Linked DNA regions of Homo sapiens: region 2 is linked to region 1. The links are contacts of gene promoters, found by promoter capture Hi-C in blood cells and fetal thymus (Javierre and others, 2016). All regions are on one chromosome and are shown on one strand. The core of a region is centred on a gene start or on the middle of the fragment in contact, and the rest is flanking DNA. Distances in the headings are between cores, read along the strand shown. Region 1 holds the start of SEC23IP (SEC23 interacting protein). Region 2 overlaps TIAL1 (TIA1 cytotoxic granule associated RNA binding protein like 1).

Region 1 (5,553 bases), core at 278-2,777:
AAGATCCTGGAGATAAAAAGGCAATTAGGTCATAGCTGCTGAAGAAGACTGCAGTCCAAATGGAGAGGCAGGTGTGTTTATTTCACAAACATTAAATCACACTGTCTGGCACGCACTATACTTAGCGCTTTGCAAAAATTAAAGCATTTCTAATTACAATTCTGTGAGGCTACACATACATAGAAACTGAAGCACAGAGAGGTAAAGTAAAATGCCTACAGTCACACAGCAAGTTACTGGCAGGGCAAGGACTGGAATACAGACAGTCTGTGCTCTTAAACACTATGCTCTGGGCAATGCTACATAATCATCAAAAAGCAATCTCCCTGGACAATAATACAAATATGAAAAAAGAGCTAGGAGTGCACATAGGAGTGGGGGCCTAAGAGAACAAGAAACAGCTTCTTGGAAGAAGTGATGTATTGTCTTGAAAGATGAGGAATGGGTGGGGGGTTAAACCTGTAATCCCAGCACTTTGGGAGGCCAGGGCAGGCGGATCACTTGAGGTCAGGAGATTGAGACCATCCTGGCCAACATGGTGGAACCCTGTCTCTACTACAAATACAAAAATTAGCCAGGCATGGTGGCAGACGCCTGTAGTCCCAGCTACTCGGGAGGCTGAGGCAGGAGAATCACTTGAACCTGGAAGGTGGAGGCTGCAGTGAGCCGAGATCGCGCCACTGCATTCCAGCCTGGGCGACAGAGCAAGACTCCGTCTCAAAAAAAAAAAAAAAAAAAAAAAGATAAGGAATGCATTGTATATGTCTACTTCACAAATATTACAGGCTTCTAGAAGAGGGGCACAGTCCATCTTATAAGATATCTTACTGTAACCTAGAAGATATTGTACTGTATCACAACAATCTCCTAGTAGGAGACAGTGTACCGTATCCTAGGAGAGGGGCACAGTCCATCCTAGGAGGTATCTTACCGTATCCTAGGAGTCTCCTAGTGGGAGACAGACTACTGTACCCTAGGAGAGGGCCACTGTTTAATTTATTTGCATTTCCTGCCAGCACCTGGCGTACCAACAACGGGTATTCAGCAAAGATTTGCGGAATGCCAGGGTACGAATGAATGTCCAGCACTCTGGACAACTCGGAACAGGGGGTTTCCGTGAAGAGCAAGTCTCATCACCTGCCACCTCCAAGATCCCAAAGCCCCCGACCCACTCAAACCTGGCCAGTAATGATCCTGGCAAGCTATCCAGAGGGTAGCTCGAGGCAGAAGGAAAAACTCCCGTCTGACCTTTGTCATTGCACGTCCCCCGCCCGCCTCCCACCACACACGGGGCCGCCCTCCCCTTATTACCTCCCGGTAAGAGCAGGGAGGCCGGAGAAGCGGAGGCCTGGGTGACTGGGATGAAGGGCACATTGAAGCTGAACTCCGTGGCCGAGGAGGAGAAAAGTAAGTTAGTGCCCGATGAGGAAGTGGAGGCGCCGCCGCTGCCACCGTTAGGTTTTCTCTCGGCCATGGCTGCGGCCCACCGTCCGATACACGTCTCCGGGTACCCGGTACCACACCACTGACCGGAAACCGATCACGCTCCTGGCCAGCGCACTTCCGCACTTGCGCACAGGAGCCGAAATTACGGGTAGCTAGTCAGCCGCCCTCTCCCTTCCCCTACACGGCGACGCCAGATATCAACATGGCGACACTGTCTTCACGCCCGCGTCTAGCACGTGACACCCTCGGAGGCGGAGGCCGGGCGGGAGGATGGGGACGTGGTCCCCGCAGGTTCTGGATAGACGTGCGAATTGAGACGCAATTGACCCTGAAAGTCACAGGTTGTGGCGGGTATCTATGGGCTTCCTAAAGGTACCGTCAGGATGGCTCTCCTGACAAAGATTTTGGAGGAACAGCGGAATCCTGCTGGACGCTACCGGAAGGAGGAAGGGAGGAAGAGCGTTGTGCGGGAATGGGAATTCGCATGCTAGGCGGAACCAAACACCCTCTCCAAAACCCACTTGTCTTTCTGGATGGAACCGAACATTGTGGTTGACCCAGAAATAGAAGTGGTAAAACATTTTTTAAGTGTTTAATCCATAGGGAGAAAAAAATATTTCGTTTTATTTTTGTTGTTTTTTGTTTTGCATTTGTTTTTTGTTTTTTTGGTTGGTTTTGTTTTTTGTTTTGAGACAAGTCTGCTGTGTCGCCCAGGCTGGAGTGCAGCGGTGCAGTCTGGGCTCATTGCAATCTCCGCCTCCCGGGTTCAAGCGATTCTCCTGCCTCAGCCTCCGAGTAGCTGGGACTACAGGCGTCCGCCACCACGCCTGGCTAATTTTTTGTATTTTTAGTAAAGACGAGGTTTCACCGGGTTGGCCAGGATGGTCTCAATCTCCTGACCTCGTGATCTGCCCGCCTTGGCCTCCCAAACTGCTGGGATTATAGGCATGAACCACCACGCCTGGCCAAAAAAAATATTTAAAAGAGAAATCAAACCAGACGCCATGGCGCAGGCCTGCAATCCCAGCACTTTGTGAGGCAGAGCGGGAGGATAGCTTGAGCCCAGAAGGTTGAGACCAACCTGGCCAACATGGTGAAACCCCGTCTCTACTAAAAATACAAAAATTAGCCGGGCTTGGTGGCATAGCACCTATATTGCCAGCTACTCAGGAGGCTGAGGCGGGAATATTGCTTGAGGCCAAATTAACCCTGATCTTGCCACTCACTGTGCAGCGAGACCCTGTCTCCTTAAAAAAAAAAAAAAGAAAAAAAAAGAAACCAGGGCATTGAAATTAGAGATCTGACATTTTAGATAGCTTTCTATATCCACAGTAAGCTGACTTACTTCAATCCAGGAGGTACTGTGGATAACTTGGACATAATTGTCATCTTTCATAGTTAGAGATTTTGAAGGAAAATATAACTTAAGCCATATTTCAGCTTCTTGGAGGTTGGGAGAGGAGATACCAAAAGAACGCTCAAAATAATGAAACTCTGCTCAGCTGTTTACACATATATAGAACCTAAGTTTATTAATTCAATAACGATTTCATGTGCTTACTGTCAAGAAAAATTTTTTAAGTGGGACACTCGTTAAAGCAGTAAATTAGATTTTATTTAATGAAAACTATTGCTAGGGAATTGGGTCCAGCATGAACTGAACACAACTTTGCTGAAACAAAAATTTGGAGGCTTTTTAGAGGCTGTGGTGTGCTAAGGGAAAGGTGCTGAGGAGTGTGAAGGGTTGGTTCGTCCTGCAACTAGGCCATCTGGGTGTGTTAATCCATGCTTATCCAGAGGAGACATAATTTTTCTGTCTTCATGACAAGCAGTGGTGTAAGAGAGCAAGGTAGCCACAGGGACTGGGAATGAGAATGAGAACCACCTCCTTGAAGGCTTGCAATTCAAGAGACAAACCCCCAGGTCCTTGAGAAGACAGTTCTCAGTGGTCATGTGTCCGGAGTTGGTTCCTTCCGGTGGGTTCTTGGCCTCACTGACTTCAAGAATGAAGCCGCGGACCTTTGTGGTGAGTGTTACAGCTCTTCAAGGTGGCACAGACCCAGAGTGAGCAGCAGCAAGATTTATTGTGAAGAGCGAAAGAACAAAGCTTCCGTAGCGTGGAAGGGGACCTGACTGGGTTGCTGCTGCTGGCTCGGGTGGCCAGCTTTTATTTATTTATTTGTCACTGCCCTCATCCTGCTGCTTGGTCCATTTTACAGAGCGCTGATTGGTCCATTGTAAAGAATGCTGATTGGTGCATTTACAATCCTTTAGCTAGACACAGAGTGTTGATTGGTGCATTTTTACAGAGTGCTGATTGGTGCATTTACAATCTTCTAGCTAGACACAGAGCACTGATTGGTGTGTTTTTACAGAGTGCTGATTGGTGCATTTACAGTCCTTCAGCTAGACACAGAGCACTGATTGGTGCATTTACAATCCTCTAGCTAGACAGAAAAGTTCTCCAAGTCCCTACTCAACCCAGGAAGTCTAGCTGGCTTCACCTCTCAATCCCCCCTCTAAAGAGGACACCCCAAGAGCTGTTGGGAATTGGGCAATGACCTCTGTAGCTACTTCCTGCTGGATGGGTTGAAGAAGGAGCCCTGCAGTTGTAGTGTCCTCCAGAGGGGAACTCTTTATGCCAGTCAAAGGGCCAGCGGGTTGGTGCAGGGGTCCTCAGTAGAAGTTGTTAGTTGAGCTCATTGGGGTTCCATTTGTAAGACCATCTGTAGCTTGATGGCCTCAATCCTAGAGGAAACAAATTTGACAAGGAGGTTAAAAATACAGGGCCCGAAGGTGAATAATAGCAAGATGGCCATCACAGGACCTAGAAAGGGGAAATGCCATATCGCCCAACTCCAGAGGTTGATATAAGAGTTTGAAAGGCGTTGTCTGATTTCAGAAGCCTTTTCCTGTAAACACCAGGCGGCACCTCATCCTATCCCTGACTGGTTAGTGTAAAAGCAACACTCTTCCCCTAAGAAGGTGCAAAGTCCTCCTTTCTCAGCAGTGAGGAGGTCTAGGCCTCGGTGGTTTTGGAGGGTCACTGCTGCCAAAGAGTCTATTTGGAATTGTAGAATAAGGATAGATTTTGTTATTTCTTGCAAACTGTCTGAGAAATCCTTTGAGAGTGTGTGGTAGTAGGATAATATATGTTACACTGTTAACTTTTAGCAAACTTTACTTTTGTTGAAAACCTTGTAAGTTTGGGATTTCAATTATTCTTTGTATTAATAAGACCTTGTTCAATCCATATTAACTTACAATTGGTATAGATGGCTTCTTCCTGATTCTGTGAGTACTTTAAGGTTTGGCTGAGTACTGATAGCTGGAGCACGTTTGAACAGACCAATTATTAGGCAATTTTCCTAACTCTGCTTCTACAAGAGTTTCCTTATCACTTACTGAATACTCATTGTGTCTTTCTCCCTTAATCGCTGGGGAGGAACCAGCTATAGTCCTGTCCTGAAGGGAGTTCCTCCTAGATCTGGTTGGACCTTTGTATGGTAATTAAGATTTAGATCCCCTGTTAGGAAACCTGCTGGGTTAAGGATTTTTGATAGGAAGGCTATGGGTTGTCAGTGGCCTCAGTGCTTTCGGGCTATGCCCTTGTTTACACTGACAACCAGGTGGTGTTGGAGTGTTACAGGGTCATGGAGAAGACCTTCAATTATCAATTATAGGTTTTAAATTTACTCTGGCTTTTAAAGGAATAGGGTACACTGTTTTTTCTTTACTACTTCTCTCCCTTTCTCTCTTTCTTTCTCTTTGACTTTCTGTCTCTTTCTCTCTTTGACTCCTTTTTTGTCTCTGTCTCTTTCTCTCTCTCTCTTCGACTTTCTGTCTTTCTCTCTTTCTTTCCTTCTCTCTGCTGGTCTTTCCCTGCTTCTGCCAGCCGCATATGCTGCTATGCTGCTGTTCTCCCCTCTCCTTCCCCTTTTTGATGGCTTCAGCAGTGTAAGACTGCCACCTCCTTGGGTTTTTGCACTGCATGCAACAACTCCATGATTTCCTTGTGGTATTTAGTGGGGGTTCCCCCGGAGGTTAGGAACTCCCTTTCTTTCCATATTGCAGCATGGGCATGTAGGATTAGATAAGCATAATTGC
Region 2 (5,553 bases), core at 1,963-4,462, 310 kb after region 1:
ATAGAATTCCATCATTTGTAGTATTGATCCTAATTTTGATCAGTAGTTTATGAAGTTGGTTCTTGCTGTATTTCTGTATCCTGGGATACCACTTATAGAGGATTATGATGCATAAGTAGAACGTAATTTAAAAATAATATTGGAGAAGGAAAGTAGTGGTAAGGAGTGGTCCTCATCAGATCTGAGTTTGAGGTTTTGTTTGGTTTAATATAATCTTCTATTTTATATTTAACACACTTCACCAGAATTCTTTATTTTCATTTAATACTGATGCTCATGATTCTACAACTGCTTTTATAGTTCCGTTTGAGTTCAGCAGTATTCTGAGGTGCAAAGTCAGGTTTAGCTTTAAATCTTATTTAAAAAGTGTTAGGCTTTCATAAGCTTATGCAGTCTCACCTTGTATATTCCCAGCTATCAGTAATGTTTTTTCCTGGATTTTCTTCTCAGCAACCCGATAGCAGAAGGGTCAACTCTTCTGTTGGATTTTCTGTTTTGCAGCATACAAGCAATGACCCATATTGCTTTGTGGAATTTTATGAACACAGAGATGCAGCTGCTGCATTAGCTGCTATGAATGGGAGAAAAATTTTGGGAAAGGTAAGATAATAGGATGATGGCACCTTATGAGTACATATATTTGCATGTCAAACTAGTTTGTATTCTTTCTAGGCAAATTTTTGAGCAGATATTCGGCTGCTGAGTGATGGTTTTGCTTTATTCAGCTTAGTGCTTTTACAAAAATAACCCTGCTTGATAAATGATTTAATAAGTGGTAAGTGTTGTAACTCATGACATGCCTAATAATTTTATTAAATATAATCTTTATTTTTAGGAGGTCAAAGTAAACTGGGCAACCACACCAAGTAGCCAGAAAAAAGATACTTCCAGTAAGTACTCCTGCTGCATTTTACTGTGGAAGAGTTCTGAAATTATCCAGGAGGCATTACCAGCTTAAATAGGTTTTTTTTTCCTCCTCTAGAGTTGCCTTAAAAAGGTTTTAGTGGCTGACTTCTTAAGTATTTGATTACCAAATGCTCTGATTTCAGATCACTTCCATGTGTTTGTTGGGGATTTGAGTCCAGAAATTACAACAGAAGATATCAAATCAGCATTTGCCCCCTTTGGTAAAATATCGTAAGTATCATAATCAGTACTACACTCAGTCATGATAGGCAGAATTGTATATGATTAACTTGTAATTGAATTAAGATTTTCTTTCTCTAGTTAGTATGGTTTTGTTTTGTTTCTTATTTTTCATTTATTTATTTTGGTTTGTTTTGAGTAGTGGATGTTGTTGAAAATGTTAATGTCATTTCAGTGTCTTGGGGTCTCGTTTTCATCTAATCCTGTGTATAATATGTTAAAAAAAATTTAAGTGATTCTGTTTGTTATCTTTGAAGCAGATGTTTGAATGGTAAAACTTATAAAGTCTAGCTTTTTGTCATATGTTTTCAAAATTTGATGGTTTAGGATAATGAGTTAATCAAAAGTAAATGTGATCTATACTGTGTAAGAGTTCAATAACTTTTATAGGAGGAATTTATAAATGGGGGAGAGTAGGTAAATCCTTGGATATATTGTGATTAAATTGGAAATGTTCATGTTTTATTATGATAAATGTGTTTTTGATATTTTAGCTATAAGTGAAAAGTACTATTATACTATTAAAATGTTTCAATGTATGAGTCATAAATGTGGGATTAATTAGATGTTTTTGTTAGTGATATTTGATTCTACTAGTTAAGAGGCAAATGTGGTTTGATTTTTAACAAATTTATGCTCAGATTTTACTGTTGTTACTTGGTAAAAAATATATTGGAAAACTAAAAATGGTTATGAATTGTAGAAAATGTTTATCATAATTTATCTTTCTGATTAAAATCAGTTTATTTTGTATATTTCCTGTAGATTTAAATTAAACATCTTAGTACTACTTTACAGGAAAGTGTTTCAACTAAGAACAACAATATTTTCTCTATACAATTTGTTGTTCTATAGATTTAATTTCTTTAAAAGATGTAATTCTTAACTTTCTGTTTTGATATTTGCTTTGCTTTTTAATCTAAATGTGGTAAGTAGTACTATTTTAAAAATCAATATAAAAATAATACAGGTTGCTGTTTTTCAATCTTTATTTATACCTGAGACCTGCAGTTTTTCTTAAGTCCAAGTCACAATTAAAAGTAATAGCATTCTGGTTATTTTGCAGAATTGCTCATAAGAATGGACAGGATCTTGAAGGCTAACTGCAAGGAACTGTGCACACTGGAACTCAGTTGTAGATTTTTTTTCTCATTTCTATTTATTCTTATTATACATTATTTATATATACATATTTTAGTATTTACATTTTAACATTCTATATTCAGTGGAGTTCTATATTTCCAATCATTTAACTTACTCACTAAAATTTCTGTGTAAATTTGTTGTTTTCGTACTGGTGTGCTTAGCATTGTTGTTAGTTTTTTATTCTCCTTTCTTAAATTTCTGAAAATGTCAATTTTTCAAAATTTACAGCTGCCCAAACTCCAAAATGATGGTAGAGAATTGACCAAGAAAAATAAAGAAATCTGTTAACAGGCCATGTATGCCTTTTTAATTCCTATTTTTTCCTCTTTTTCAATTTTTTAATATTTCATATATTTTGTATCACTAGGCAGAAGACATTTAACTATTTAGAGATTGCATGGTAAAGTAGTTAGTATTGTTACAGTAATTTATAGAATCAGTAAACCTTAGAGGACACTAGTAAATAGAATATTAGAAAGGGAAACTGTTGTTCCTATTAATCTTCAAATTTGAGCATTTAGTTTAGAAAGCACAGGCTATTTGATTAGGTTGCATGTTTATTACATGTTTTTGTCCTACTGCTTTTTTCTAACAGGTAAAGAAGCATTAGGGAGAGTTCAGGAATGGTTGTAGTTAATTAGGGCTAACTGGAATTTTATTTTAAAAATGCTCACAATACAGTGTGTGTGGTTCCTTTTAGTTTTTATTTTGAGGGTGGCTCTTACTTCCCTCATTTAGCTGTGCTTCTTTTCACAGGGATGCCCGGGTAGTTAAAGACATGGCAACTGGAAAATCCAAAGGCTATGGTTTTGTATCTTTTTATAACAAACTGGTACGTTCTTCCATCTCAATTTATATTTTTTAATACTAAATTTAGTCATTAGTTACTTAATGTATTGAATCTGAAACTTGAATATACTTGAATGTTAACTACAAACACAACTTTTATGTAATGTTATGTATGTTTTAATAATAGAGTATAATTTCATTCCTCTTTCATAAACTCGAAAATAAATAGCTAGAAAAAGAATGATTATACTATAAGGAAGATTATTAAAATTGTGTTTGTACATTGGTAAAGGTCAGATGGATTTAGAAGTAAAGCCCAAGTCTAGGACAGATGAGCTAATCTGAGAATTTAGAGGTTAGGTAAATTATATTCAGTTTTAACCATGAAAATCTCAGTTTTAACTCTACCTTTTAAATTATTATTCATACTCTTATATAACTGGGATGTGAATGACTACAACAAATTATGTAAATAAAAATTTAAGCAATTCATCTTGATTTTTGCATATATTCTTTGTAAAAGGGGTACCAAAGTAAGCATTTGCATTAACTGTAACATTAAATAATAAAGTGGGCTTTGATTTTAAAGCAGTTTCAATAACTTAAATCAATGTTTTGTTTTGTTTTGTTTTGTTTTTTTGAGATAGAGTCTCGCTCTGTTGCCCAGGCTGGAGTCCAGTGGTGCCATCTCAGCCCACTGCAACCTCCACCTCCCGGGTTCAAGCGATCGCGCTGCCTCAGCCTCCTGAGTAGCTGGGATTACAAGCATGTGCCACCACACCCAGCTCATTTTTATATTTTTGGTAGAGACATGGTTTCACTTGGGTTCGCCAGGCTAGTCTCAAACTTCTGATCTCAAGTGATCCTCCTGCCTTGGCCTCCCAAAGTGCTGGGATTACAGGTCATCTACATTTTATTGAAGTGGTAAGATAAAGGGCCAGAGTATTCTGTTTTTGCTTAGATTGAATCTCAAGTTCAAATCGTTTTCTAATTGGTAATAGTTCAGTTTCGTTTTGTTTAGGATATTTAGTAAATTCATCTACTGATTTGTATGGAACCAGCAGCGCCGATATTTTATTTCATCTTACAGAGTCTTATTTATCACTCTTTTCTTTGTGATTGTGCTTTCTTTTTTATCCATAGGATGCAGAAAATGCGATTGTGCATATGGGCGGTCAGTGGTTGGGTGGTCGTCAAATCCGAACCAATTGGGCCACTCGTAAACCACCTGCACCTAAAAGTACACAAGAAAGTAAGATATGTCCACTGTGTGTGTTAAAATTATATTCTTCACAAAATCATGTATCATGTATTCATCTAGTCTCAATTTCTAATTTATTTATGTAAGAGACAGGGTCTTGCTCTGTTGCCCAGGCTGGAGTGCGGTGGCATGATCTTAGCTCACTGTAGCCTGAAACTCCTGGGTATAAGTGATCCTTTCACCTCAGCCTCCTGAGTAACTGAGACTACAGGGACATGCCACCATGCCCAGCTAATTTGTAATTTTTTTATAGAGACAGGGTCTGGTTACGTTGTCCAGGCTGACGTAGTATTTAATTAGTGTTGCAAGACTCTAATTATTTCATTTTATATTTCATTATCTGAAAATAATTGGGCTGTGGTATAAGTATTTTTGGAGCTGTGAATCACCTGATTTTATAGATCAAGTCTGTGTCAAATCATAGCATCAAGAAAAATTATGTTTTCTCCTCCCATTGAGGCATATCTTTTTTTTTTTTTTTTTTTTTTTTTTGAGGTGGAGTCTCGCTCTGTCACCCAGGCTGGAGTACAGTGGTGCGATCTCAGTTCACTGCAACCTCCGCCTCGCAGGTTCAAGCGATTCTCCTGCCTCAGCCTCCTGAGTGGCTGGAATTACAGGCGTGTGCCACCACACCCAGCCAATTTTTGTATTTTTAGTAGAGACAGGGTTTCACCGTGTTGGTCAGGCTGGTCTCGAACTCGTGACCTCGTGATCCACCTGCCTCAGCCTCCCAAAGTGCTGGGATTACAGGCGTGAGCCACCGTGCCCTGCCTTAATTTTTGTATTTTTAGTAGAGACAGGATTTCGTCATGTTGGCCAGGCTGGTCTCGAACTCCTGACCTCAGGTGATCTGCCCACCTCAGCCTCCCAAAGTGCTGGGTGCCCGGCCTGAGGCATATCTTAATAGTATATAGTAATTAACAGAAGAGTTTCATAGTACAATATAACAGTCAACGTTTTTGTTTTGTTTCTGCATACAGACAACACTAAGCAGTTGAGATTTGAAGATGTAGTAAACCAGTCAAGTCCAAAAAATTGTACTGTGTACTGTGGAGGAATTGCGTCTGGGTTAACAGGTACAATGTTTGGTTTTCTAATCACCTCTGAGGAGCTTCATCACTGTTCATATGAATTTCATGATACACATCAGCCATGTTTTATTTGTATGTTTTGTTTTATAGATCAGCTTATGAGACAGACATTCTCACCAT

The links. The method cuts DNA at HindIII sites, captures the fragments that hold promoters and counts their contacts. A CHiCAGO score of 5 or more calls a contact.
Region 2: a fragment that was not itself captured here is called in contact with the fragment with the promoter of SEC23IP in region 1 in 1 of 17 cell types (total B cells); the score reaches 5.4 in total B cells.

What each region holds. Positions count from the first base shown.
Region 1 is chr10:119,888,704-119,894,256 of GRCh38, reverse strand. SEC23IP (SEC23 interacting protein) reads right to left here and starts at 1,527. Exons shown (of 19, transcript NM_007190.4): 1 at 1,312-1,527. The coding sequence starts at 1,474. RefSeq lists enhancers at 1,279-1,789, 1,790-2,300, 2,301-2,812, 4,613-5,151. The HindIII fragment of the contact is 6,362 bases long and covers 1-3,555 here.
Region 2 is chr10:119,577,506-119,583,058 of GRCh38, reverse strand. It overlaps TIAL1 (TIA1 cytotoxic granule associated RNA binding protein like 1), which reads left to right. Exons shown (of 12, transcript NM_003252.4): 3 at 502-600; 4 at 836-890; 5 at 1,050-1,137; 6 at 3,049-3,124; 7 at 4,225-4,333; 8 at 5,323-5,418; 9 at 5,524-5,553. Among named protein-coding and RNA genes, the nearest start is that of TIAL1, 17 kb to the left of the region's middle. The HindIII fragment of the contact is 5,652 bases long and covers 387-5,553 here.